Regions from separate parts of the Homo sapiens genome. Here all the other regions are linked to region 6. The links are contacts of gene promoters, found by promoter capture Hi-C in blood cells and fetal thymus (Javierre and others, 2016). All regions are on one chromosome and are shown on one strand. The core of a region is centred on a gene start or on the middle of the fragment in contact, and the rest is flanking DNA. Distances in the headings are between cores, read along the strand shown.

The links. The method cuts DNA at HindIII sites, captures the fragments that hold promoters and counts their contacts. A CHiCAGO score of 5 or more calls a contact.
Region 1: a fragment that was not itself captured here is called in contact with the fragment with the promoter of IBTK in region 6 in 12 of 17 cell types (total CD8 T cells, M2 macrophages, monocytes and 9 more); the score reaches 13.8 in total CD8 T cells.
Region 2: a fragment that was not itself captured here is called in contact with the fragment with the promoter of IBTK in region 6 in 4 of 17 cell types (non-activated CD4 T cells, total CD8 T cells, total CD4 T cells and 1 more); the score reaches 9.4 in non-activated CD4 T cells.
Region 3: a contact is called between a fragment that was not itself captured here and the fragment with the promoter of IBTK in region 6, in 14 of 17 cell types (total CD8 T cells, monocytes, fetal thymus and 11 more). The highest score is 20.1, in total CD8 T cells.
Region 4: a fragment that was not itself captured here is called in contact with the fragment with the promoter of IBTK in region 6 in 16 of 17 cell types (M2 macrophages, non-activated CD4 T cells, total CD4 T cells and 13 more); the score reaches 58.9 in M2 macrophages.
Region 5: a fragment that was not itself captured here is called in contact with the fragment with the promoter of IBTK in region 6 in 11 of 17 cell types (total CD4 T cells, activated CD4 T cells, M2 macrophages and 8 more); the score reaches 11.8 in total CD4 T cells.
Region 7: a fragment that was not itself captured here is called in contact with the fragment with the promoter of IBTK in region 6 in 16 of 17 cell types (M1 macrophages, endothelial precursors, megakaryocytes and 13 more); the score reaches 15.4 in M1 macrophages.

The regions. Positions count from the first base shown.
Region 1 is chr6:83,097,939-83,101,546 of GRCh38, reverse strand. It overlaps DOP1A (DOP1 leucine zipper like protein A), which reads right to left. Exons shown (of 39, transcript NM_015018.4): 4 at 661-842. Among named protein-coding and RNA genes, the nearest start is that of DOP1A, 32 kb to the right of the region's middle. The HindIII fragment of the contact is 323 bases long and covers 1,909-2,231 here.
Region 2 is chr6:82,997,538-83,001,297 of GRCh38, reverse strand. All of the region lies in intron 8 of UBE3D (ubiquitin protein ligase E3D), which reads left to right. Among named protein-coding and RNA genes, the nearest start is that of UBE3D, 66 kb to the left of the region's middle. RefSeq lists a silencer at 55-246. The HindIII fragment of the contact is 1,891 bases long and covers 726-2,616 here.
Region 3 is chr6:83,077,740-83,081,618 of GRCh38, reverse strand. The region is part of intron 1 of DOP1A (DOP1 leucine zipper like protein A); the gene reads right to left. Among named protein-coding and RNA genes, the nearest start is that of DOP1A, 12 kb to the right of the region's middle. The HindIII fragment of the contact is 3,746 bases long and covers 1-3,657 here.
Region 4 is chr6:83,061,234-83,064,932 of GRCh38, reverse strand. The region is part of intron 1 of UBE3D (ubiquitin protein ligase E3D); the gene reads left to right. Among named protein-coding and RNA genes, the nearest start is that of UBE3D, 2.8 kb to the left of the region's middle. The HindIII fragment of the contact is 3,859 bases long and covers 1-3,295 here.
Region 5 is chr6:83,019,315-83,023,109 of GRCh38, reverse strand. It overlaps UBE3D (ubiquitin protein ligase E3D), which reads left to right. Exons shown (of 10, transcript NM_198920.3): 7 at 549-657. Among named protein-coding and RNA genes, the nearest start is that of UBE3D, 45 kb to the left of the region's middle. The HindIII fragment of the contact is 5,372 bases long and covers 1-3,795 here.
Region 6 is chr6:82,245,491-82,248,993 of GRCh38, reverse strand. IBTK (inhibitor of Bruton tyrosine kinase) reads left to right here and starts at 1,250. Exons shown (of 29, transcript NM_015525.4): 1 at 1,250-1,432. RefSeq lists a silencer at 1,448-1,617. The HindIII fragment of the contact is 2,262 bases long and covers 94-2,355 here.
Region 7 is chr6:83,037,474-83,040,947 of GRCh38, reverse strand. It overlaps UBE3D (ubiquitin protein ligase E3D), which reads left to right. Exons shown (of 10, transcript NM_198920.3): 5 at 2,463-2,532. Among named protein-coding and RNA genes, the nearest start is that of UBE3D, 27 kb to the left of the region's middle. RefSeq lists an enhancer at 1,816-3,015. The HindIII fragment of the contact is 459 bases long and covers 1,421-1,879 here.

The DNA of each region.
Region 1 (3,608 bases), core at 821-3,320, 850 kb before region 6:
TTTTAAGTGGAGAAGAGTCAACCATGTTGAAAGTTGCTGAGAGATCAAGGTATCCTATTTTTTTCTCAGGCCAGTTTTCAAGCTTAAAAAGGTAGAATGTACTATAGTCTCAACAACTTTGAATGAAAACTTTTAATAAATGATATCTAAGAATAAAAAACAAAAAGACATTAAAGACTGTTCTACATTTTTCTGAATCACTTAACTCAAATATTTAAGATTGATATCTGAGGCCAGGCGCGGTGGCTTATGCCTGTAATCCCAGCACTTTGGGAGGCAGAGGCAGGCGGATCATGAGGTCAGGAGATCGAGACCATCCTGGCTAACACGGTGAAACCCCGTCTCTACTAAAAATACAAAAAAATTAGTCGGGCGTGGTGGCGGGCGCCTGTAGTCCCAGCTGCTGGGGAGGCTGAGGCAGGAGAATGGCGTGAACCCGGGAGGCAGAGCTTGCAGTGAGCCAAGATTGGGCCACTGCACTCCAGCCTGGGTGACAGAGCAAGACTCCGTCTCAAACAAAACAAAACAAAGATTGATATCTGAAAACTTCTAATCACTAAGGAGTTTTCAATTTTTAGTTTTTAGTGCAGAAAGTATAAAATAGTTTAGCAATACATTTTCTTTATATTATTTGTATATATATAGTAAAATTATTCTTACCTATATAAAAAAAGATCTTTGGCAAGTCGCTTAGGTCCAATTATTTTGAAGATAATTTCATATGTTTCAAGCGCCTTCCGATGAACTCCACCTGGTAATGCTGGATGTAGACATTGAGCTAGGCGTTTGCCTATGGTCAGCTTTTTGGGTACTACTTGGTACTTTGCATTATTTTGTAAAACCTTGAAGAAAGCATTTTAATGTAGTTGAGAAAAACAAAATATTGCATTCATTTTACTTCCATTTTCTAGCATAGTATTATAAAAAATGATCATTGTAGGTCTTTGTGTTTTGTTAGCTACATTTGCCTATATATACCATATTTAAAATTAAAACTGAGGAAATGTTACAAACTTTATTAATTTGTTTAAAAAATAAACTCGTTACCTGTTAACAGAATAACATTTTTAATGAAAAATGATATTTTCCAAAACAAATTTATGGAGAAGAGAGGTATTTTAGATTTTTTTTGGTAAATTTTTAATATTTGATGTGAGAAGACAGCTGGAATGTTACATGAACATGTAACATGGAAAGTTACAGCCTTCAATCCATTTTTGCTACTTTGAAATAAAGTCTGGCCTCAAAGTAGATATTTACAGTACTTGGAAGAGGTACAACCATTGTCCTAGTATATCAAATTACAGCAAGTAATTCTAATGCTTATAAGAAAATCTACATGAGATTATCATTGCCCATTTGTTTTTATAAACTGATTTTTCTAACTGGACAAAACAACTTTTTGTTTTATTTATTCAACCATAACATTTCCTTAGAAATAATGGTCAGGGCAGAATTTCTGTACAGAGACCCTATCTTACCAACCACTCAAAGGAGATTAGTTAAGTAAAGAAGATCTTATAATAAATGTAATCCTTTAGTTTGAACCTAGAAGTCAGTATTATAATCAAGTATTGATAGAATGTCACAAAGTGAAGACTCAGAATGAATACAGACTATGTTAGAACTGGAATTTAGAAGAAATATGCAAAGTCTTATTTTACAGAATAAACTGAGGTTGAAATAATAGGTTAGTGCAAAAGTAATTGTGTTTTTTTGCCATAATATATGAAATGACCATCAAAGGCGGTATGAGTATATATATGTAATAGAGCATATATATATGTGTATGTGTATATATATGTATACGTGTGTATATATATATATATATGTATATACACACACACACACACACACACACACACATATGCAATCCTTGCCTTGTTCTATCACAATTTTGGCTAAGCTTCATAAACAACTTGGGTATTCTTCTTTGAGTTATCTAGATACCATGAAATCTACTTTTGTGAATATTGGTTAATCTAAAAAACTAATTATGTACCTAATTAGGCAAATTAATTTCCATCATTTAATGACTTGCCTTTAAAAAGAGTTCCCAGTATATCTTCAGAAACAGACTCTTCAAAACTCTTTAGGAAAAAAAAGAACCTAACTACCTTTAAGCAAACTTGTACTTTTAGATGGAATTTCTTGTGGATGTTGTAAAGGAATAAAGAATTATTCAAACTTCAAAAGATAAATGTTAGAAGTTCTAACATCAAAGAGAAGCTTCTGAATCAAATTTTAAGACAAATCCTTGACATACTGAAAATGGTAACTTTTCTTTTTATGGTATCAAAGTGATTATCTGTCGTATCAGGTTGAAAACTAGTGTCCTGGTGTGGTATTGTGAGTGAGAGTGTGTCTGTAGGTTTTCATCCATGGTTCCTGGCTCATAACTCCCACAGCCCTTATTATAATATGGGGAACTTTGGGCCTCAGAAGCAGGCCTCAGAAAACAATTTCTCTCTGACTTTTCCTGCCCTCTTCTCATCTCCTTTTTCTCCCTAAGGCAGGAATCTTCCCCTGTCTCGGAGCTGGCCGTAACAAAATTCTCTGGACTACTTGGTCTCATTGTAGGTCAAAGACCCCTATTTCAGAAGGGGTCCTGCCCCATACCCAGAAGGAAGGAATGCTGTAGAGAGGCCAAGAAAAATCTGACAGACGGGCCTTGCTGGGTTCCCCCACTTAGTCTGTTAGTATTACATCATATCTTTTCTTTCCTATCACATTTCTACACAGCTGTCCATGCTTCAATCATGCCTATCCAATGAAGTCTCAAAAGGCCCAAAAGGATGATTAGAGAGTGTCCAGGCCAGCTGAACACATGCGGAGGTTCCTGGAGGGTGGCACTCCTGAGGAGGGCATGAAAGTTCTACGTCCCTTCACCCATACCTCACACTATGCATCTCTTCACTTGTATCCTTTGTAATGTCCTTTATAATGAACCAGTACCCTAAGCTCTGTGAGCCGCTCTAGCAAATTAAAGCTAAAGAAAGGATTGTGGAACTTTATAGCCAGTTGATCAGAAGCACAGGTAAAACAAACTAGGGCTTGTGATTGGCATCAAAACAGGAGGACAGTCTTATGAGGCTCAGCCCTCAACCTGTGGGATCTGATACTATCTCCAGGTAGATAGTGTCCAAATTGAACTGCAGCACATCCAGCTGGTATCTACTGTAGAACTGCTTGCTTGCTGGTAAGGGAGAAATAACCACTTGTTTTAGGGTTATAGAAATCTTCTGCATTGATTGTCGTGGTGAGAGCAGAGGAAAAACTATCTGTGTTTTCTTCCCCCACACATCTTAGTATGTATTTTAAGACAAACTTCTTTCCTAATTTGTATGTTAAGCTATTTGATAGGCTGGGTATAGTGGCTAATGCCTGTAATCCCAGCACTTTGGGAGGCTGAGGTGGGAGGATCATTTGAGGCCAAGAGTTCAAGACCACCCTGGTCAACATAGCGAGATCCTATCTCTAAAAAAATAACTAGCCAGACATGGTGGCATGCCTGCAGTCCCACCTACTCAGAAGGCTGAGGTGGGAGGATCCCTTGAGCCCAGGAGTCTGCAATGAGCTATAATCATGCCACTGGACTCCAGCCTGGG
Region 2 (3,760 bases), core at 422-2,921, 750 kb before region 6:
TATCACAGACTTATTACAATCTAGCAGGAAAAATAAGTAAATGTAAAACTGCAAACTGATCAGTGCTATGATGAAGAGATAAATGGTGCTATGAGAACAAATCAGAGAGAGACCAACTGGGTCAGGATAGGAGTCCATGAAGAACTGATGCTTGGGCCGGGCTCAGTGGCTCACGCCTGTAATTCCAGCACTTTGGGAAGCCAACGCTGGCAGATCACCTGAGGTAGGGAGTTCGAGACCAGCCTGACCAACATGGAGAAACCCCATCTCTACTAAAAATGCAAGATTAGCCAGGTGTGGTGGCACATGCCTGTAATTCTAGCTACTCAGGAGGCTGAGGCAGGAGAAACACTTGAACCCAGGAGGCGGAGGTTGCGGTAAGCCGAGAGCGCCCCATTGCACTTCAGTCTGGGCAACAAGAGCGAGACTCCGTCTCAAAAAAAAAAAAAAAAGAATTGATGCTTGACTGCTGCCTGAAGGAGGAGAAGGAGTTTACTGTGAAGAGCTTCTAGGCAAGGGGTGGGAGGCAGTACAGTGAGTACAAGGGATGGGAAGGTCAGGGTGGCTGTAATAGAGAGAGAGAGAAACAGGCATAGAGTAGGGAAGAGACAGACCAACTCAGGGACCCAAAGGGACTTGAAAGAATTTAGTCTTTATCCTAAGAACAATAAGAACCGATTGAACATTTTATCCAGAGAGAAGCAAGAGGTGGTTTAATTTAAGCTTCAGGAAGATTGTTCTGGCAACCATCTAGAGAATAGTTGGATTTGGGTAGATCAGATAGGAAGCTATTGCAGTAGCCTAAGAGAAATTATTTTAGTTTGGACCTGGGTGATGGTAGCTGCAATAGATTTGAGAGATACTTAGTAAGTAAAATTGCATACTTGATGATTGATTGGATTTGAGGAATGGGCCACTATATACTGGGATAGATAATATTGGAAGAAGATAAAGTTTTGGGAGAAGATAATTGGTTCACTTTTATACATGTTGAGTTTGAGGTGCATTTGAGTTGTTCAAGAGAGAATAGCAAATAGAATGTTAATATATAGACCTGGGGTTCAAATAAAAGGTTGGGGCTGGATTTGTAAATTTGTGAGTCATCTGCATATTGGTTGTAATTGAAGCCAATGGCATGGGTAAGATTATTTAGGAAGAAAGAATGGAAGACAGAGCAGTGAAGAACTCCCACATTTATAGGCTAATTGAAGGAGGGTGAGTCTGGAAAGGAGATAGAGGAGTGGTGAGACAGGAGGAAAACAACAGTATTGCTTTTTAGAGGCTAAGGGAGGAAACTGCTTTAAGAAGGAGAAAGTAGTCAAACGCTGCTGAGAGAGAGGTCAGGTAAGATGTTGAATGTAAAACATGCATTGGATGTAGATTACAAAGGTTATTAGTGACTTTTACAGGAATTATCTTGGGTGCCTGGGATGAGAGCTGGGGTGGAATGGGTGAGCAGTGAATGAGAGGTGATATGACAAACAGTAAGTGTGGACCACTGTTTCAGGAAGTTTGGCTGTGAACGGCAGAACAGAGAGGAAGGGGATGGGAAGCTGACTTAAGGTAGGCAGGTGGGGTTAGACTGACTTGAGTCCATTTAAAAGCCAACAGGGGGCTGGGTGCAGTGGCTCATGCCTATAATCCCAGCACTTTGGGAGGCTGAGGTGGGTGGATCACTTGAGGTCAGGAGTTCAAGACCAGCCTGGCCAACATGGTGAAACCCCGTCTCTACTAAAAATCCAAAAATTAGCTGGGTGTGGTGGTGTGCACCTATAGTCCCAGCTACTTGGGAGGCTAAGACAGGAGAACCACTTGAACCCAAGAGGCAGAGGTTGCCATGAGCCTAGATCGCGCCACTGCACTCCAGCCTGGATGACAGAGTGAGCCTGTCTCAAAAAATATAAAAGCCAACAGGGAAGGTCCTGTTGAGAAGAGGTTGATTACACATGAGAAAGAAGGTATGACTGATGAGGCAGGATTCCAGGACAAGATGGAAAGGTCTGGTATCTCAAGCTCTGGTGGACCGACCAGCCTCAGGAGCAGGATAGCTCTCCTTTTGTAACAGGACAGAAGGAGATCAGTATTGGAGTGGCTGGAAAAGATTTGCATATAGGTTTTGAGAAGATGAAATACTTGTCCTCTGATGGCTTCTGTTTTATCTGTAAGATAGGAGTAAAGAGGGAGGAGGCACAAGAGGGAGAAGGGATAACGGTAGTGGACGGTTGCAGATTTGAGGAGAATGGAGAAGATTTAAAATGGTCATTTGGAAAGGAGATGAGTGAGATGACCAGAAATGTGTGGACTTGGTAGGCATAGTTCATTGCCCATTTGAGGTTCATGATCACAAATTCATAGTGATATTAACCTTTCTTATGCTGTGACATTTTCCAGCTTATCATCTACTAAGCACAAGCACAGAGAAAGCGGACAGTTGAGTTCATCAGGGTTAAAGTTTGGTTGTCCCCATGCAAAGAGTACTGTGTAACTCTTGTATTAAGTATTATTATAGTGATGGACTGTAGAATCTGTGTGGCCTGTTTTAATGACTTAAGAGTTGGAAAGAGGCTATAGTTTTTAATCACTTACTGAAACTTAGATCTGGTAGAAGAGAAAGCTTTTAATTATATATTTGAAGCTTCTTAAAAAATTTTTTTAAGTACCAAAGATTATTGATGGGAAATGATCCCCTTAAAATATATTAAGAAAAACTCTAATCCCTTAATGGAGTTTTAGCACTTATTCAGACACATGCCCTGAGTTAAATTTCCTTCCAGATTTTCCATATGATTTTTGTAATCCCATTTTGTAAGGAAATGTATTGGCCTAATGTGAGATGATAAGTATAAAGAAAAAGGTGCGTAATCTTTAGTGTCTGCCAGAATTTTAATTTGACATTTATTATGTAAAGGAACTGCAGTGTTCCTGTGGTTCTGCTTTTATTTTAGACATTAAGGTTGAAAAATGATCTTTGGATCCTAAAGTCAGCTGGAGTAGAGGGAAGAAGTCAGTTTCTTTCATTATCACTTGGGGACTTTTTATCCAGATGGCTGTAAGAGCCTTCCAGGTGCATGTACCTCTATTGCAAAGCAAAATAAACGGAACATTTAATTATTGGAGTTCCCACTGTTAAGTCTAGCTGCTGCTGTAACATCCATTGTGGGAGGAAGTGCTTGTCCCAGGTACCTATGCAAGGCTTCAGGCCAAAGGCCTCTAGCAATAGCACTGTCCTCCATGGGACACCCTCTGCCTCACTGCACAATATCAACTGCCAGAACCTTACTCTTGTCATTTTCTCTCCATGTCAGAAAAAATTCCCGTACTTAAAAAAAAATCAATCATTCCTAATTCCCCAGGTAAATGGTGAAGGCATTCTCCTTGTAAAATAATTTCAAATCACAGGGTCAAGTTCAAATCCGTGGACTACCATTTCTAATTTCACTCCCGTCTGTATAACCACTGTAACCAGGTTGCTGTGTATGTTTCCAGACCTTTACCTACGCATATACATATATTTATATATGCCCCTGGAAGTATATACAAAAACTATTGTGTTTTCCTTTTTCTTTTCTTTTCTTTTTTAAGACAGAGTCTTGCTGTGTCGCCCAGGCTGGAATGCAGTGGCACCATCTCGGCTCACTGCAAGCCCCGCCTCCTGGGTTCACACCATTCTCCTGCCTCAGCCTCCCAAGTAGCTGGGACTACAGGCACCCGCCACCATGCCTGGCTAATTTTTTGTATTTTTAGTAGAGACGGGGTTTCA
Region 3 (3,879 bases), core at 535-3,034, 830 kb before region 6:
TGTCACATAGCTTTTCTTGTTTCTCCTAGTAGTTTCATAGTTTCAGGTCCTATTTTTTTTTATAACCCAAGATGATTTTTGTATATGGTGAGAGATAAGGGTCTAATTTTGTTCTGCAGTTTATCCAGTTTTCCCAACACGATTTACTGAAGAGAATGTCCTTGCCCCACTGTGTATTACTGTTGCCTTTGTCAAAAACCAGTTGGTTGTAGGGCTGGGCATGGTGGCTCACACCTGTAAACCCAGCACTTTGGGAGGTTGAGGTGGGTGGATCACTTGAGCCAGAAGTTGGAGACCAGCCTGGCCAACATGGTGAAACCTTGTCTCTATTAAAAATACAAAAATTAGCCGGGCATGGTGGTGCATGCCTGTAATCCCAGCTACTCAGGAGGATCGCTTGAACCTGGAGGCAGAGGCCACAGTGAGGTGAGATCACACCACTGCACCCCAGCCCGGGCAACAGAGTGAGACTCTGTCTCAAAAAACAAACGAACAAACCAACAGTTGTTTGTAAATGTGTGGAATTATTTCTGGGCTCTCTATTCTGTTCCATTAGTCAGTCTGTCTGTTCTTATGCCAGTTCCATGTTATTTTGGTTACAATAGCTTTGTAGTATATTATGAAGTCAGGTAGTAGAACACCTCCAGCTTTGTTTTTTTGCTCAAGATGGCTTTGGTTATTTGGGGTCTTTTGTGGTTCCACAAAATTTTAGGATTTTCTTTTTTCTATTTCTGTGAAGAATGTCATTGGTCTTTTGATAGGAATTGTATTGAATCTGTAGATTGTTTTGGGTGACACAGACATTATAAAACAGGGATTTTAATTCAATAAATGGCCGTGGTGAACCTATATACAAGGGGAACTATATACAGAACATAAAAGACAACAATCTATTCCTCCCTAGAAAATAATTCCTAAGAGGTAAAAATGCTCTGAAGTGGGATGAAATACTACAGAGGTACTGCAGGTTGGGTTACACATCCAAAAACAGTATTACAGATGTGGCTGTCCCCAAATTTAGGATGTGCAGGGCTGATGACAGGATTCTTGCTGGATTAGCAGTATGCTTTAGTGCACAAATTCTATTATTAAGCACCTAAGGGATGCTTTATAGGACCTACTAAAGACAGGTTTTTTCTCTTGGCAAAGGGAGATATAATTCCTGAGGGTTATTAGTTATGAGGGGACAAAATGATAGTTCAGAAAACAAATATATCAAGGAAGTTTTCCTTATTTTGATGAAACCTGTGAACATCACTGATAGTTTAATATTCTGGTTTAGTCATATATCATTGTATTAACAGTATCTATAGAAAGAAGTAGTTGTGTGGATAATGTAAAACAGAATCCCAAACAACTAAATTTTGCTTTTAGGATATATCTGCTTTTTTCAAACATATCTTTCTAATGTTTTGTTTTTCCTAACATTAAAATGTTTGATTTCACTGTGTATACATTGATTGGGTAGGGGGAAATGAAACAAACATTTTAGATGGCAGGGGAAAAAAAATCAGCCTAAGAGTAAATATCAGAATAGTACACTTAAAGAACATCTAAATTATCTAGATTGACCACATTCTGTTTTGCTTTTATTAATAGTTTGGAAGAAGAAAGAAAACATGGCTTATTTTTTATATACAGCAGAAGGTAAGACATGAGAATAATGATAAAAATGAATGCATTGCTATTCAGAATGATTAGAGAGGTGAAACGCAAGATGAGGAATAACTAACTGTTAACTATCCCACCATGTATTTCTTTCCAGCTTATTTGAAACATAAATTTTCATCAGAAAGTACCTTTCTCAAAGTATCTTTATTTGTAGCTATCATTCTTCATTTAATGACAATGATTTTGCTTAAACTTTTACATATGCTAAAACATACTACTAGAAATAAAGTGAAATAAGCAAAAATAATTTTTACAGCATAATTAAACCCATATTAAGTTAATCAAATCATTATTTGCAAAATAAAATCTAACCAATATATTTAAAAATTAGTAATTTAACGTTTTCAGCATTTAAAAAATAAATAGTATGCTATTAACTTACTACAGAGTTGGATTTTCAAATAAAGACTGGTTTTTACATAAGTTAACATAACAATGCCGTACTATACATACTAGCCAAACATTTTTCTATACTTCCTAGTGTGTTCCAATTTAACTGAATATCTGTAAACAAATTTTAATCACAGCCAGTAGAAACAAATTTTTCCCATTAAAAAAAATCCCATGGAATTTTAACGTTTTTCTTTGCCCATTTTATTAAGACTGTTCCAAAAGTAAAATCATAAGAAAAAGCACACATGCAAAAAAATTCACTGAGATGCAAATTCAATCATGCCTATGTATTTAAAAGATAAGATCAAAATATTACACAGGAAGTCACCAACACTTTAGCTGAGTACTTTTATTTAAAGATGCTTTTTTAAAAAAGGGTTCACCCTGGACACAGACCATGCATGTATCTGTGCACATCAGTTTCCAAAATCTGTGAAAGAATGGTGACAGAAAGTAGCCTTGCACAAGGGTTAACTCCCTTGATGGACAAAGTAAACTAGAATTAATGTTGAGGATATCAAGATACTTTACAGAGAAAAATGGGGTACAGCCTACAGCAGACCTTCCCCCAGCTCCTACAACCCTTCAATGTCCATCCCCTCTCATGTTTTAAGGTTAAGATGGTAACAAAACAACAATATTAATAATGCTCATCATGAAAGAACAAAATAACTTTGCTGAGGTGTTAATTCTGTAAGAGAGAATTAACTCTAGATATTTTTGCAGATTCTGAAGCACGTAATAGAATAAGAACCAAAATAAGGTATTGCTTAATTATTGTAAAAAATCTCTACAAAACATAGGCACCCTCCAAAATACTGATAAACCATAAACTGTTACTACACCTCTCCTCACTTTCCATTTCACAGTACCTCTGTTGTCAGAATATCACTCCAAGAAATGCTGTAAAGTCTGTCAAGCACTGCTATTATTTTCTGAATTTCCTTGTTTTCCTTCATTACTGTCAACAGCACCATCATCTTCCTAATTACACAAGTTTGTACTTGTGCGATTTCATTTGGAGCAGTTTAATAAAGTCTACAAATGTGCATTTTTCAGAATGGTCTTTAATTCATGCCTATTTTATACCTGGACTATGTCAACAACCTATTTTCACTACCTTCACCTTCTCCAAGAGCCAATTAATTTTACACAGGAAAAAGCAGGTGGAGCATGTTCCCTGCTGGAAGCTCAGAAAAGTACATTTGATAATCCCTGGAAAGCTCTTTAGCTCAGTGTTAACTTAGCGTATAAGAAGTGCTCTTATTACTGCTATAATTGTGATATTCATTTTCTTAGACATGAAATGCAAGCTGTTAGCCATATAAAGCCTTCATAAAATAGACCCATTCCTTCAATCTTATTCACACTTCTGTCCCAGCTAAGCAAAACCTAGGCAATTGTCCACTGTTCAAGACTTGCTCCCTCCCATCTCAGTGCCTTTACACATGCTATTAATTTTGTGGATAGAATTTAATTTTCTATTAAATTATACTCAAACTCAAAATGCTATGTCTCTGCATGATACCTAGTGATTCAACCCCTTTGACCTAATTTTTAAATCAGTATCTTTTTCAATATTCAGAATAAGCTTGTCCAACCCACAGCCCAGAACAGTTTTGAATGTGGCCCAAGAAATTCGTAAACTTTCTTAAAACATTAAGAGATTTATGCATGGACCTTTTTAGCTTATCAGCTATAGTTAAGTGTTAGTGTATTTTATGTGTGGCCTGAGACAATTCTTCTTCCAATGTGGCCCAGGGAGGCCAAAAGTTTGGACACCCCTGATTTAGAAACATGGCTTACATGACAGTA
Region 4 (3,699 bases), core at 117-2,616, 820 kb before region 6:
AGTAAGTTAGAAGTTAAAATCCTGAGAATGGTATTACACGGTGCCACAGGTAGATTGATGCTTAATTTTTTCCTCTTCCCTAAATCTGCCAGATATCTGGTGTGGCAATTTGGAATATGGCGTGAGAACTGAGTTCAAATGCTAGCTTCCTCACGAAATTAGAATAATTTAATCTGAATTTCTTCAATCTTGAAATGGGAATAATAGTACTCTGAATGTATTTCTTTTTCTCTTTCAAAATTTATGAATTTGGACAAATATCTCCAATTCTGGTGCACCTTGTAGAGTAATTAGGAACCCAAACCCTACCAAAATAAAACAAAAACCACACACACACAACAAACCCTCCCTTCCTCTCATGCAGGGGCCTTTCACAGTTCCCTTGGACTACTCTCCTTTGTTTAGGCAAGGTACCCGGGTGGCTCATGCCTGTAATCCCAGCACATTGGGAGGCTGAGGCGGGCGGATCACGAGGTCAAGAGATCAAGACCATCCTGGCCAACATGGTGAAACCCTGTCTCTACTAAAAATACAAAAATTAGCTGGGTGTGGTGGCGCGCACCTTTAGTCAGTCCCAGCTACTCAGGAGGCTGAGGCAGGAGAATGGAGTGAACCCGGGAGGCGGAGGTTGCAGTGAGCTGAGATCGCGCCACTGCAGTTCAGCCTGGCAACAGAAAGAGACTCCGTCTCAAAAAATAAAAAATAAAAAGAAAAAAAAAGAAACCTAACTTTGCTGGACTTAGTTTTGCCATTTCTTGAACTACTTATAAATGGATTCATACAATATATACTTTTTTGTTTCTGGCTGCATTCCTTCCATAATATTTTTCAGATTCACGTTCCATCTATGTGGCTGCATATATCAGTAGTCCATTCCTTTTTCTTGCTAAGTTTTCCATTGTATGAATATACCACAATTCATTTATCTGTTCTCCTATTGCTGGATGTTTTTCTTGTTTCTGGAGTTTGCTTATTATGAATACAGCTGTCATAACACTGTTGTATAAATCTTTTTTTGGACATACATTTTCATTTCTTTTTAGGTAAGTACCTAAGAGTGAAATTTCTGGGTCATAGGATAGATGTGCATGTTACTTTGTGAGAAATTGCCAAACAGTTCTCCAAAGTGATTGTACCAGTTTGCACGTTCAACCAGAAAAAAAATGAGTTTCAACTACTTTACATTTTGACTTACATTTAGTATTATCAGTCCTTTTAGTTTGAACCATTCTAGTGTGTGTAAAATAGTATCTTGTGGTTTTAATTTTCATTTTACCGATGACTAATAATGTTGAGTGCCTTTTCACTTGCTTTTTAGCAATTCATATATGTTCTTTTTAAAAGTATCTTCTAATTTTTTTTGCCCATAATCAGATTATTTGTCTTGTTTAATTGAGAGTTCTTTATACTGTCTCAAAACAAGAGCTTTCTCACATAAATGCCTTGTGAATATATGACTATTCTTATCTGTGACTTAACTTTTCATTTTCTTTTCTTTTTTTTTTTTTTTTTTTTTTTTTAGACAGCGTCTTGCTCTACTGCCCAGGCTACAGTGCAGTGGTGTGATCATGGCTCACTGCAGCCTCAACCTCCTGGGCTCAAGCAATCCTCCCACCTCAGCCTCTGGAGTAGCTGGGATACAAGTTGCATGCCACCATGCCCAGCTAATTTTTGTATTTTTTTGTAGAGATAGGGTTTCACCATATTGCCCATGCTGGTCTTGAACTCCTGGACTCAAGCGATCCACCCACTTTGGACTCCCAAAGTGCTGGGATTACAGGTATGAGCCACCATGCCCTGCCTCGTTTTTTTGATAGTGTCCTTTGATGAACAGAAATTTTAATTTTAATGAAGTCCACTCTATCGTTTTTTTATTCCTTAAGGGTTAGTTTTTTTGGTGTCTTAAATCTTTGCCTACCTTAAGGCTGTGAAGATGTTTTGGCAGGTTTATTTTCTAGGAGTTATATCGTTTTAGCTTTCACATTTTGATCTGTGATCATGTTGAATTCATTTTTGTGTTTGCAGTGAAGTAGGGATCAAAGTTCTTTTTTTGGTATAAGGATATTCATTTATTCTATCACCATCAGTTGAAAAGGCCATCATTTCTCCCATTAAAATAACTCAGTCTTCATGAGAAATCAGTTGACTATACTGTTTGCATAGTGTGTCCTTTCTACCTTTTTAACCTTTCTTATGTCTTTCTGTATAAAGCAAAAAGCTGTAAAAATACTGTATTTCCCTAAAAATAGCATAAAACTGTATGCTAGTTTTAAAAATATATAGTTGGGTGATTTTAAATCTGTTCTGATGATCTGTGTGTTCTAATTAAAATGTTTAGTATATTTTATAGTTAATTTAAATATTGGTGTTCTTGTTCCTAACTGCTATGGTTTGGATGTGTTTTGTCCCTATGTTTTCTCACTTTGATCCCCAATGTGGCAGTGTTGAGACATAGGGCCTAGTGGGAGGTGCGTGGTTCCTGAGGGCAGATTCTTCTTGAATAGATTAATGCCCTCCCATGGAGATGGTTGGGTGAGTTCTCTCTCAGGAATGGATTAATTCCTGCCATAGTGGGTTGTGAAAAAGAGTCTGGCTTCCAAAGTTTACATTCACAGATGTAAAGATCTATTTATATTAAGATATCTTAGCATTTTGGGATAAACTTTGGCCATTCATTTATTCAATCCACAGATGTTTATTGTGTTCTTACTCTAGTGCCAAAAATTCAAATTCTAAGTGCTGAGAATACAGCCATGAACAGTAACAACAGCAAAGACAAAAACACCTGCCTTTGTTGAGCATAGGGTTTAATGGTGGCAGTAGAGAAGAGGCGGCAGAGAATATACAAAATAAATATATATTTGATAGAAGTGGAGAAAAAAATTAAACAAAAAAGGAATGGGGAGAAAAAAGTTACAATCTTTTATTTCAAATGAGAAACTAACATTTGAGTATTAAACTGTAACTGGTGAGGTGTAGAACTGCCATACCTGGTGGGAGACAATTTCCCTTTGAGAGAAAGTGAGTATGAAAGGGTGCCTAGTTCAGAGAGATGCGGGTGAGTTGGGGGAACACATAGTAAAAGATCTTATGGCAGTGTGCTGGTACATGTTTAATAACCTACTCTCCATGAAAATAAACAAAAAGACAAACTAAGGTCTTGATTTGAAGCATTTGTTGATTTCTTTGGTGTGAATACTTTCACCACGTATGACCTTCAGCCTACCAACTGGGTGAGGTGAGTTGACCTGCTTTGCAGAACTCCTAGAATTTTAACAACAGGTTCTCCAAAGCTTGTAGCAGCAGGGCCTGCTATACCACTGTGCCTTATGGACCATCGAAAGGACTTTAGCTTGTAGTTAGAGTGAGAGATGAAGTCATTGGATAGTTTTAAGCAGTTGTGATACCTGACAGAATACAAGTCAATGGTGAAGAAAGCCTCAAGTATGAAATTATTGTATGAACTATGTCAATCAAACTTAGTCTTAAAGTAGGAATTCTCCTAAAGAACCATCATCCAACACTCACAATTGGGAAATGTGTTGCTACCATCTTACATCATTCATGTTTTACCAGTTGTCTACATAATATCCCTAATAACAGAAGAATCCAGTTCAGAATAAGGCATTGCATTTCACTGTCATGCTTCCTCTGTCTGTTTCAATCTAGAAGAGTTCCTCATTTTCCATTGACTTTCAT
Region 5 (3,795 bases), core at 315-2,814, 770 kb before region 6:
AAACAAGTTAACCATGATATGTCTTTATTCCAGTTTATTTGTTGATATCCAAAAATTATAGCAATCTTTGAGTATAGCCTTGAACTTATCCTTATGTAAATACTTTGATTCTGTACCTCAGAGCTGACACTTTAGGGAGATCCAAATGGAAGAAAATGTAGACAATACTGTCTGATGTTTGGAAGGAAATTTCTTGCCTTCTTTTGTAAGTTAGTTATTCTCTGTTTAATATGCTACAGCACAAATGGAGTATTGACTTGTTCTAACATGGTATTTTTTTATTCAGTAGGGGTGAATAGTTAGGTTTGGTGTGGAAAGTGTATCAAGGATTGGAGAATAGGTTTTAAGAAGAATGGAGCAAACCTGAATACATTAAAATATATTAAAATCCACATCAGTGCAGATTCTGAGGGAATGAGCAGTCCGTAGAAAAGTCTGGCATGTGGATATGTCTGCCTTTTAGGTACCGTGTGTGTATTTTTTGCTTATCTTGCCAGTTAGAGTTATTATGAGATACACATTGTAAAAATTGATTTCTGTTCAAACAGGTCTTGGTTTGTCCAGAGCGTGATCGCCCAGTGTCTGGTGCAGCTCTCCTCTGCTAGAAGCACTTTTAGATTCACGATTCAAGGTCAGGATGACAAAGTGTATATCTTGGTAAGAAATTATTTTATCCAGCTTTTTGTAGCCTAGGAATCCAAGGTCTCAGAATTCTTCAGTTTTTTCATCCTTTTTTCTTAATTCTCAGGTGTGGAAAATAAGTGATTAAAAATGTTAATATCAGGCTGGGCACGGTGGCTTATGCCTGAAATCCCAGCACTTTGGGAGGCCAAGGTGGGTGGATCACTTGAGGTCAGGAGTTCGAGACCAGCCTGGCCAACATGGGGAAACCCCATCTCTACTAAAAATACAAAAATTAGCCTGACATGGTGGCCCATGCCTGTAGTCTCAGCTACTCAGGAAGCTGTGGCAGGAGAATCGCTTGAACTCAGGAGGTGGAGGTTGCATTGAGCCAAGATGGTGCCGCTGCACTCAAGCCTGGGTGACAGAGCAAGACTCCATCTTAAAAAAAAAAAAGTTAATATCAGTTTAATTCATAAATCAAACTCCTTTATTTTAATAACAGATGATCAAGTGCCTCTATGTACTAGGTACTACGGATACAGAGAAAAATCCTGATTCCTGCTATTTAGAAGCTCATACCACAAAATCAGGGTTTTTTTGTTTTTTGTTTTTTTTTTGAGATGGAGTATCACTCTGTCGCTCAGACTGGAGTGCAGTGGCGTGATCTCAGCTCACTGCAAGCTCAGCCTCCTGGGTTCATGCCATTCTTCTGCCCCAGTCTCCCGAGTAGGTGGGACTACAGGCGCCCGCCACCACGCCCGGCTAATTTTTTTGTATTTTTTTAGTAGAGACGGGGTTTCACCATGTTAGCCAGGATGGTCTCGATCTCCTGACCTCGTGATCCACCCACCTCGGCCTCCCAAAATGCTGGGATTACAGGCATGAGCCACCACGCCCAGCCAAAATCAAGTTTTTTACTCTCAGTTTGTAATGGCTTTTTTGGGGTCACTATAACACTATTCTGTCCCACTTTTTTTTTTTTCCTATTTAGTACTCTTATGTTTAGAATATGTCCTATTGCTCCTGTTTGTTTTTTGTTTTTTTGAGACAAGGTCTTACTCTATCACACAGGCTGGAGTGCAATGGCATGATTATGACTTAACCATAGCCTCGACTTCCCAGGCTAAAGTGATCCTCCCACCTCAGCCTTCTGAATAGCTGAGACTCCAGGCCTACTCCACCATTCCCAGACAATTTTTAAATTTTTTGTGAAGACGAGGTCTTGCTATGTTGCCCAGGTTGGTCTCAAACTCCTGGGCTGAAGTAATCCTCCCACTTTGGCCTCCCAAACTGTTGGGATTATAGTGGGATTACAGGCATGAGCCACCATGCCTGGCCTTCTTCTGTTGTTTTTAATTGCCTCTGATTCTGTGATATTTGAGAAACAGTGGCAATTTTTGAGGAAGAGGCTCTGTGGCTAGCAATCATCCCAGCATGTACCACTAGAGCCTAATATTACACTACCTCTGAAAAACAGTGTCCTGCAGAAGCAAATTTTGAGCATTTATCTGGATAGTCAAGAATCATAGCCCAAGTATCTTCTCTGCTTCTACATCTATTTTATTCAACCAGTAAACAGGTATGGAGCACTTCTTATATGAAAGACACTGTTCCAGGTGCTCAAGGTAGAACACAAATGCCTTCATGAGACTAAAAAGCTAATAGGGAAACATAGTAACAAAAAGGAGGGAAGGGCCTGAAGTTGCTGTTAGGTGTGACTCTGTAGCTGGCCATCCATTATGGGGACACTATGCTTTTCTAATTGCAGATAATTTCCATGAAAACCTAAAATATTTTCTGACTGATTTTGATAGTAAATATACCTCACAGTTTTCTGAAATCAGTTTTACTTTTTCTTTTATTGTAAGATTTCAGATTGAAGATCGGGAGTAGGAACTTCTGAAACTTTCTAACATATATTTAGATTTTTCTTTTTTATAAAAGTAAAACATTCTTGAAACACAATCAGGGAACATGAAGAACATAAAGTGTTCCCTTTCCTGCCTTGCTATATCATACTATTCAGGGAGCAATCAGTATTAACAGTCTGATATGTGTACTTCATTATTTTTATTCTTTCCATATACAACTATATATATGTACACTCACAGGTGTTTGTCTATTTGTAAAAAAAAAAAAAAAAACAGTATCACATGATTAGCGTTTTTCTGCAACCTGCTTGCTTCACAGTATGTATCATGAGGATTGTTTTTATTAGTTTAAATATAGGTCTGGCTCTTTAATGACTGGAATTTTGCTGTATGGCTGATAAGACTGAACTGCAATGAAAATAATCTTTGCCTGTGTCTTTTAGTACTTCTTTAGAAATGGATCTTTCTAATGTAATATAAGAATTTGTATATTTGAAACTCAGATAATTATCACCTTGCAAAAAAGTTGTACTAATTTATCTTTTATAGTGGGCATTCTTGGTGTGCCACCCAGACCCCATACTGGGTTGATGCACCCATTCCCAGCTGCTGACAGCGTTGGCTGATAATGGCTCACAGCTGCCCGCTTCTCCACAGACTTCCTCTTTAGATGACAGGTGTTGCCTTGCCCAGAAGTTACCTGTCCGCCACAGTCCCTCCCTGACTCACCCCTTCTTGGTCAGCCCGCTGCCAGTGATTTGATCCTGGGGCACAGAAAGCTAGGGACTCTTGTCTCAAGGTAGAACAAACTCTGTAGGTGGGATTCATGCTGTAGAACTCCCCCATGGATCAGGCTGAAACCAGACTCCAGATGATTCTATATCCTTAACTAGCTCTTTCCCCTGCCTTATCCCATTTCCTTCACTTCCTTTCTCCTGTGAGTTTTCCCTCAGTGAATCACATGCATCCAAATCCCAAAACACTCTCCCACCAGCAGTGTATTGGAATGCCCACTTCAAACCCCTTTTCTGAACTAGATGTTATCAGTACTTTTATATTTGCCAATCTGGTAAATGAAAAATGGTGGCACAAAATTTTACATTTATTAGTTACATTAAGATTCTAATATATGTTTATTTATCATTTATTTCTTCTGTTAATTCTGTTCATATTCTTTGCCTGTATTTCTCTTGGGCTGTTTTACCCCCTTACTGAAGCTCTGTATATTATGGATAATAACTTTGTTACTTATGCATATTTTCTCCGAGTCAGTTGTCTTTTTTTTTTTTTAACTTTATGT
Region 6 (3,503 bases), core at 1-2,500:
GTCTCGATCTCCTGACCTCGTGATCCGCCCGCCTCGGCCTCCCACATTGCTGGGATTACAGGCGTGAGCCACCGCGCCCGGCCAACTTAAGCTTATTTTCAAAACCACTCAATTTTGACATTACAAACTGGTTTTTGTTTTGTAGAAGGACATTAAGAATAAAGAGCAAAGAAACAATTATGTGCTGGGAAGGGCAGTAGGAGGGCTGGGTCCTAGTCTCCCTTTCTCTTTCGCTAAGCAGCTGTGTGGCTTTGGGCTAGTAACCTACCCTCCCACAAAAAAGGCTTCAAAAGAGAGCAAGCAGAGCTCAGTGGGCATTAAGACATGCGCAACTCCTTTCTTTTAGAGATTAGATGAGGTCGACTCAGTGGCTTGTAAAACTCAACGTGGCAGAGCTGTACAGCCAACTCATGATTCTTAGTGTCGTTTGTTTTGAGTCACACTACACCTCCTTGAACAATCATTTACTGAGTGCTTACCGTATTAGGCATTCAGCAGCAGTGTGTTTCCCATTCAGTAACCTAGTATTGATTATTGGCTACTGTCCCTCCTAGCATTTTTCACTTGACCACTTTCTAAATGGCCTTTAGATTCAGAGTTCAAGTGGAAAAAGCCTAGTGTAAGCCTGGTGTCAGGCAGTGAGTGGCGTGACCCGGGTCGGCAGCTAGTCCTACGGTGGTGATCTAAGAGGGCAGTGACGCCTTCTGACCAAGGGAGTGACTGCCAGATAATCCGGGTGTATGGAGATCCAGAGAGGGGTGAGGCTGGGTTTACGGAGACTACACCTTTGGCTTTGCAGTAACCCCACTGCTAAGGCCATGGGAGGAAACTCTTCTGTGCAGGACGCCTATGCACTTGGCTTCTGCTGCGTAGCGACCGGGTGTCCAAGGCATCCTGCCAGGTCTCCTTCTCCACTCGGGTTTAGCCTCCCCCGCGAGTCTCCAGCTACCTAGAGAGACGTTTCTAACTACGAGATGGCTGGCCTGAAAGGGACACTCCCATCACCGTTGTTGGCCTAGAGTTCCCCGCTGCGGCCTTTTTCTTTTCCCCGCCCCTGGCCTGAGTCAGCGGCCCCAAGGCCGGCGAGGTCAAGTTCCTTTGGGGCGCCAGGGAAAAGGCCATGGCAGAGGTGCTGCCACGCGAAACCTTCTGGGCAGGCACCAGCCAATCATCAAGAGACATACAGGAGCCCCAGCCAACCAGCGCCCGCCTTATTACTGGGAACCGCCCGCTCGGGCCCTTCCTCTACATCCCCGTTCCCGATTCCTGTAGTAGCGGCTGTATTGCAGCCGCCTGCCGAACTGACCCGGGTCTGGGGACTGGCCCCTCTGGCGCCGTTCGGTTTCTCTTATTGCCTTCACTGAGGATGAGTCCCTTTGTGGCTCTATGTGGACCCTGCGGAATCCACCGGCGCAGTTTCATCTAGCGACTGGTGAGGGAGGGCTTGGCGCTGCCCGACCGTGCGGTGCGGCTTCCCTTCAGCCCGGGGGCAGGGGGAGAGTATTCGCCTTCTGGAGGGTGCGGGTGGCTGCGGACGGCGGCGCGGGGGGACCGTGGGGAGGGGACTCTGTGGCCCCGAGGCTGCCGGGCTTCGCGCGAGGCGGCGCGGAGAGGGCCGAGTGGCCAGGGTCCCTACCGCCCCCCTCAGCTAATGAATGGCCTGTCCCGGCGATGCGCTACGCTCCCGTCCTGCTGGACACGCCCTCCAGCGACATTGCATTCCTAGTTGTGATAGTTATGTAGTGTCACTTTCCTTCGAGTCTTGGATTTGAAGCCATTCCTGTGGGCGCTCATGTTCCTTATCCCCTTCCTGGAGTCACAAGTTTGAGTCCACCCTGGGGATACTGACTCTGGGGAAGCAGGTCGTGAAATCTGATAAGTGGACATTGATTGCTATGTAAAAAGGAACTGATTCTTTTTGGAGGGTGGAGGGTTGAGAGAGACAGAGAAGACAGGCCCTTTGTTTTTGTAACAGGCAGAGCTGTCTGGCTCAAAGAGTTTTAGTTCAGCTGCGAATTAGGTAACATAGGCCGTCCTTGACTCCTGTTTTCCAACGTAGTTCATAAAACTTGACTGTGTTAGCCAGAGATTCATGTAGCACCTTTTAACTTATGCCTCGAAGTAGGCCATTTGAAATTTATCAGAAATACTGAAAGGATATGACTTTTATGAGTAGTAGTGTTTCAGTGCCCATAAAGTGGTGTAAATTCACAGGCTTGCCAGCCCCCTCTTGATCATTTCTCTTTTTGTATTTTGAATTCCTTAACTTTTATTTGTTTTAGAAATTGAGGCAAGGTAGATGAGGACAAAACTGGTTTCTAAAAATAATTACATTTGCAAATATTTGCAGAAGCTTTAGTCAAACCAGAGTTTACTTCAAGAAATTTTTTAGGCCGGGCGCGGTGGCTCACGCCTGTAATCCCAGCTACTGGGGAGGCTGAGAATTGCTTGAACCCGGGAGGTGGAGGTTGCAGTGAGCCGAGATCGCGCCGCTGCACTCCATCCTGGGCGACTGAGTGTGGCACCATCTCAAAAAAAAAAAAAAAAAAAAAGATGCCTGTAATCCCAGCAGTCTGGGAGGCCAAGGTGGGCGGATCACTTGAGGTCAGGAGTTCGAGGCCAACTTGGTGAAACCCCGTCTCTACCAAAAATACAAAAAAATCAGCCAGGCATGGTGATGTGTGCCTGTAATCCCAGCTACTCGGGAGGCTGAGGCAGAATCGCTTGAGTCTCCAGCTGCCCTACCAAACTGCTTTTGAATTCAATTATTTTGAATTGAATTCCATGGTACTTTTTTCTACTACACTATACTACTTGCATTGAAATTTTTCTAACTGCCTTTTGGGAGAGCAGTTTGGTAGCATAGAATAGGTGGGATCAAGAGCACTTTTCTGTCGGTATTATTTTAGGTAGGCTTTTTAAACTTTCACATGAATCTCCTCATCAGAAAATGAAAGTGATCATATTTACAGGGGCAATAATAAGGATTATATTTATGTAGAGCACTGTGTATAATGTATAAAACAAAATTTCACCTATAATTTTTGTGTGTTTTTTCCGTTGTTTAATTTTGTTTTGCTTTACTCACTTCCAAAGTATTGACCCCTTACTCTTCTTTCTAGTTTCCCTATCTGTTCTCCAAGCCAGAAACCTGGGAATTACCACCACATCTTGTCAATTCAAGATCCTAAGTATGTCTTTGGATTGCCTGCCCTTTTTTTTTTAAATCTCTAAGAAAAGGCACATAAGGCTGTTCAAAATCCTGTCTATCCTTGTGTGTATGTTAGGCCTCACTTCTTTCTGTCTTCTGAATTATTTAGAAATTTTGGAATGGACCAAGATGATTCTAGTTCTTTTATATTTACTATCCCTTCTGCTTCAAATGTGCTCTCACCCAGAATTTATCAGGCCAACACATATGGTACTCTTTTTTTTTTTAGAAGGAGTCTCGCTCAGTCGCTCAGGCTGGAGTGCAGTTGCATGATCTTGGCTCTCTGCAGCCT
Region 7 (3,474 bases), core at 401-2,900, 790 kb before region 6:
TTCTGAGTTCTCTTCCTCCTGGACCTGAATAAATTGGCACCTTCCTAGGTTTCTGTGTCTGTCTCTTACCTCTCATGGGTATGACACCATCCAGTTTCCCACCTGGGTCAGGCTCTGAGACCTGCCATTTGTGATGTGCCTGATAAGGATGTCAGTGCAATGGCCAGAGATGGCACACTGTGGGGCCCACTTTGGGAGTGTGCCTGGATAAAAGTTTGAGCCAGGACTGAACTGACTTATGAAGTTCATGTGTGCTTTTGTTTCCTCAGCAGAGACTTTTGAGGAAGGCTGCAGAATCTGTCCAAATACTGCAGCTAGACCAGGAAAAAATGGAATAAGTGTTTATGTTACTGAAGGTTAATTCAGTGTATGAAGGGATTCATCTCAGAAGTTTTTAAATAGAAGAGCTGTAGGCATTTACGGATTTTTTTACTAGTTGCATGTGTTTGAGGCTGGGGGAAAGAATAGGCCATAGAGAAAGACCCCAGTATGAATTGTGCTGTTGCTCTTGACTTTGACCCCTGATTGAATATATATATATATAGAGAGAGAGAGAGAGAGAGAGAGAGTCAGTCTCGCTCTGTTGCCCAGGCTGGAGTGCAGTGGTACAATCTCGGCTCACTGCAACCTTCCCCTCCCGGGTTCCTGTGATTCTCCTGCCTCAGCCTCCTGAGTAGCTGGGACTACAAGCGCGCACCACGACGCCCAGCTAATTTTTATATTTTTAGTAGAGACAGGGGTTTCACCATGTTGGTCAGGCTGGTCTCAAACTCCTGACCTCATGATCCGGCTGCCTTGGCCTCCAAAAGTGCTGGGATTACAGGTGTGAGCCATGGTGCCCAGCATTGAATATATTTTTTTACATCAAGATCTGATAACACACATACACTCATGCACACATACACAAACACACCTCAAATAAAAGTTTCTTGAAGCAGTACTTACTCAGTGTTTGAAGCACTGTCATATTTTCTGTTCTATTGTATTTCATTTTTTAAAAACACAGTAGGCCTGGTGTGGTGGCTCACGCCTATAGTCCCAGCACTTAGGGAGGCCAAGGTGGGTGGATCACGAGGTCAGGAGTTCAAGACCAGCCTGGCCAAGATGGTGAAACCATCTCTACTATAACTACAAAAATTAGCCGGGCATGGTGGCAGGTGCCTGTAATCCCAGCTACTAGGGAGGCTGAGGCAGAGAATTGCTTAAACCCGGGAGGCGGAGGTTGCAGTGAGCCAAGGTCGCGCCACTGCACTCCAGCCTGGGCAATGGAGCAAGACTCCATCTCAAAACAAAACAAAATAAAACAAAACAAAAAAAAACAAAACACAGTAATCCACTGAATTGGTTCCATGAATTGGTTCCCACTAATGGGGCACATGAGCTGTTGTTTGGAAAACACTTAGCATAGTGTTCAGAAGCTTTAGCATCAGAGAGACCCAGATTCAGACATCAGCTCTGTCTGAATCTAGCAGCACTTCCATGGAACTCAGTTTAAATGTACTTTTTATTCAATTTTTCAGGAAATTATTTATGCCAAAGAAAAAATACTTAAATGTATATTAATCAGTTAAAATTTTTTTCCTTAGATTAAATACACATATTATCCCACATCAGAAGTCACTGCCCTTCTTTACTTCAGCCTACACCTATTCTGTGGTTTCCCAGGAAAGGTACCCTGGAGTATCCAGAGTTGTAGAACCTCCTTTTCCCTGCCCACTGTATATGGCTTCTGCCTTGTTACAGTATATCTGGACGAGAGGAATGTATGGTTTTAACAAAGGTATAACTATGGATGGGAAAAGGCATATTCTTTATTGATTAGGCAAATGCTAGCTATTTTAATCTGTATCTCAAATAGCGAATTTGGATTTTTGAAGCTTAGGTTTGTTTCAGGAATTGTCCCAGAGCACTGCCTGTCTTTCCAGTTACAGTGCCGATCCTAAGTGGAAAAAATGGAAGTATATGAACAGACTAGATATTTTTAACTTTTCATTTATTGTAGTTAAGGGTTATGGGTTACTTTTACATAAATTACACTGGACTAGGAGTCAAAATAGTGTGAGTTCAAGTTCTGATTCTTCTGTGTTCTATACACATGAGTTGGGGCAAGTCATCAACCCTGTCTTTGTTGCCCACCATCTGCCTGTTTTAAGTTATAAGGCTATTTGGAAGTGCTTTTTAGAAATATAAGGTACTACTTATTCAAATTATTTGGCAACTTTTGGACTATCAAGAAGTGGCTGGTTTTGGAAAAGTGAATCTGTGTGTTACTGTTTCTTAAGACTTGAAAAATTTTCTCTGTGCATGTGAATTATGCATACAAGCTAAATGTATTCCCAGTATTTAGTAGAGGGCAGAATAAAATGTAAAGTTCAATGTATACTCTGGGGACTATGTTAAAATTATATATTCCTTTTAAGAAAAGCTGAATGACATTTAAATGACATTTTTCTGTTCTACAGGAACCAAAGGCAAATACCAAAGTAATTTGTAAGCGTTGCAAGGTAATGTTGGGAGAGACCGTGTCATCAGGTAAGAATTTCATAACAAGAAGCCAAAATGATTGGCTTCTTGCTTAAAAGCCAGAATGATATTTTATAGTAAATATATAGGAAAGATAGATGATTAATATATGTTGTGGAATTGGTGCTTTTCAAAATAGACCCCAAGTAACATACCATCCAATATACCAAGAAGTTTGTATATTTTGACCTTCATAAATACAGAGTATTGAATTTTAAGTATTAAGAAGTTGAGTCATTTTCAGAGTTTCATAGCCTCTTTGTAGATATAAAGCAATAGTATAAAGTTTGTTCTTGGGCCTATTTCAAGAAAATTGGAGCTTTTTTCTCTCTTTGTTTCCTTCTTTCTTCTTCTTCTTTTTTTTTTTTTTTTAATTTTACCTTCCTGGTAACTCACGAAACAGAGCTTTTTTCTTAATACACCTCCTCAGTTAGAAGAATTGGTGCCCAGAGATGGAGAAGTTGTTTTTCTTGGCTGCCATCTGGCTCGGGGCTGTATTTTGGGGCTGGGGATGGGAGAGGACCTGTTGAAATGGAAGAAAAAAAATTCCGAATTTTGTACTTTGTCCCTTATTCTTTTGGTTCCCCAGTAGCATTGATTATATTTTATGTAAACTCTGTTATACTACTTTAAAATATAATAATGAAAATCCTGATAATTAAAATGCATTGCTGTTTAAAGATATGGTTTATAGTGTCTAGAGAACTACAACATGCTGTGTTAGCTTTGGATGATGAATAATTACTTTTAATACAGTTAATTAGAAGATGTGATTTACATGAAGCAATTGTACTTAAGGGAAGGCAGATGATGGTATTTTTTGTTTATTTGTTTGTTTAATCGTCAAAATCTTGTAAGAAGTTACTTGTTCACAGTGAGCCAGAAAGGAAAAATGAGTTAGTAAAAGGTACCATCCTTAACGTCATTTTTGGAAAATGAAAGCAAGCCTCT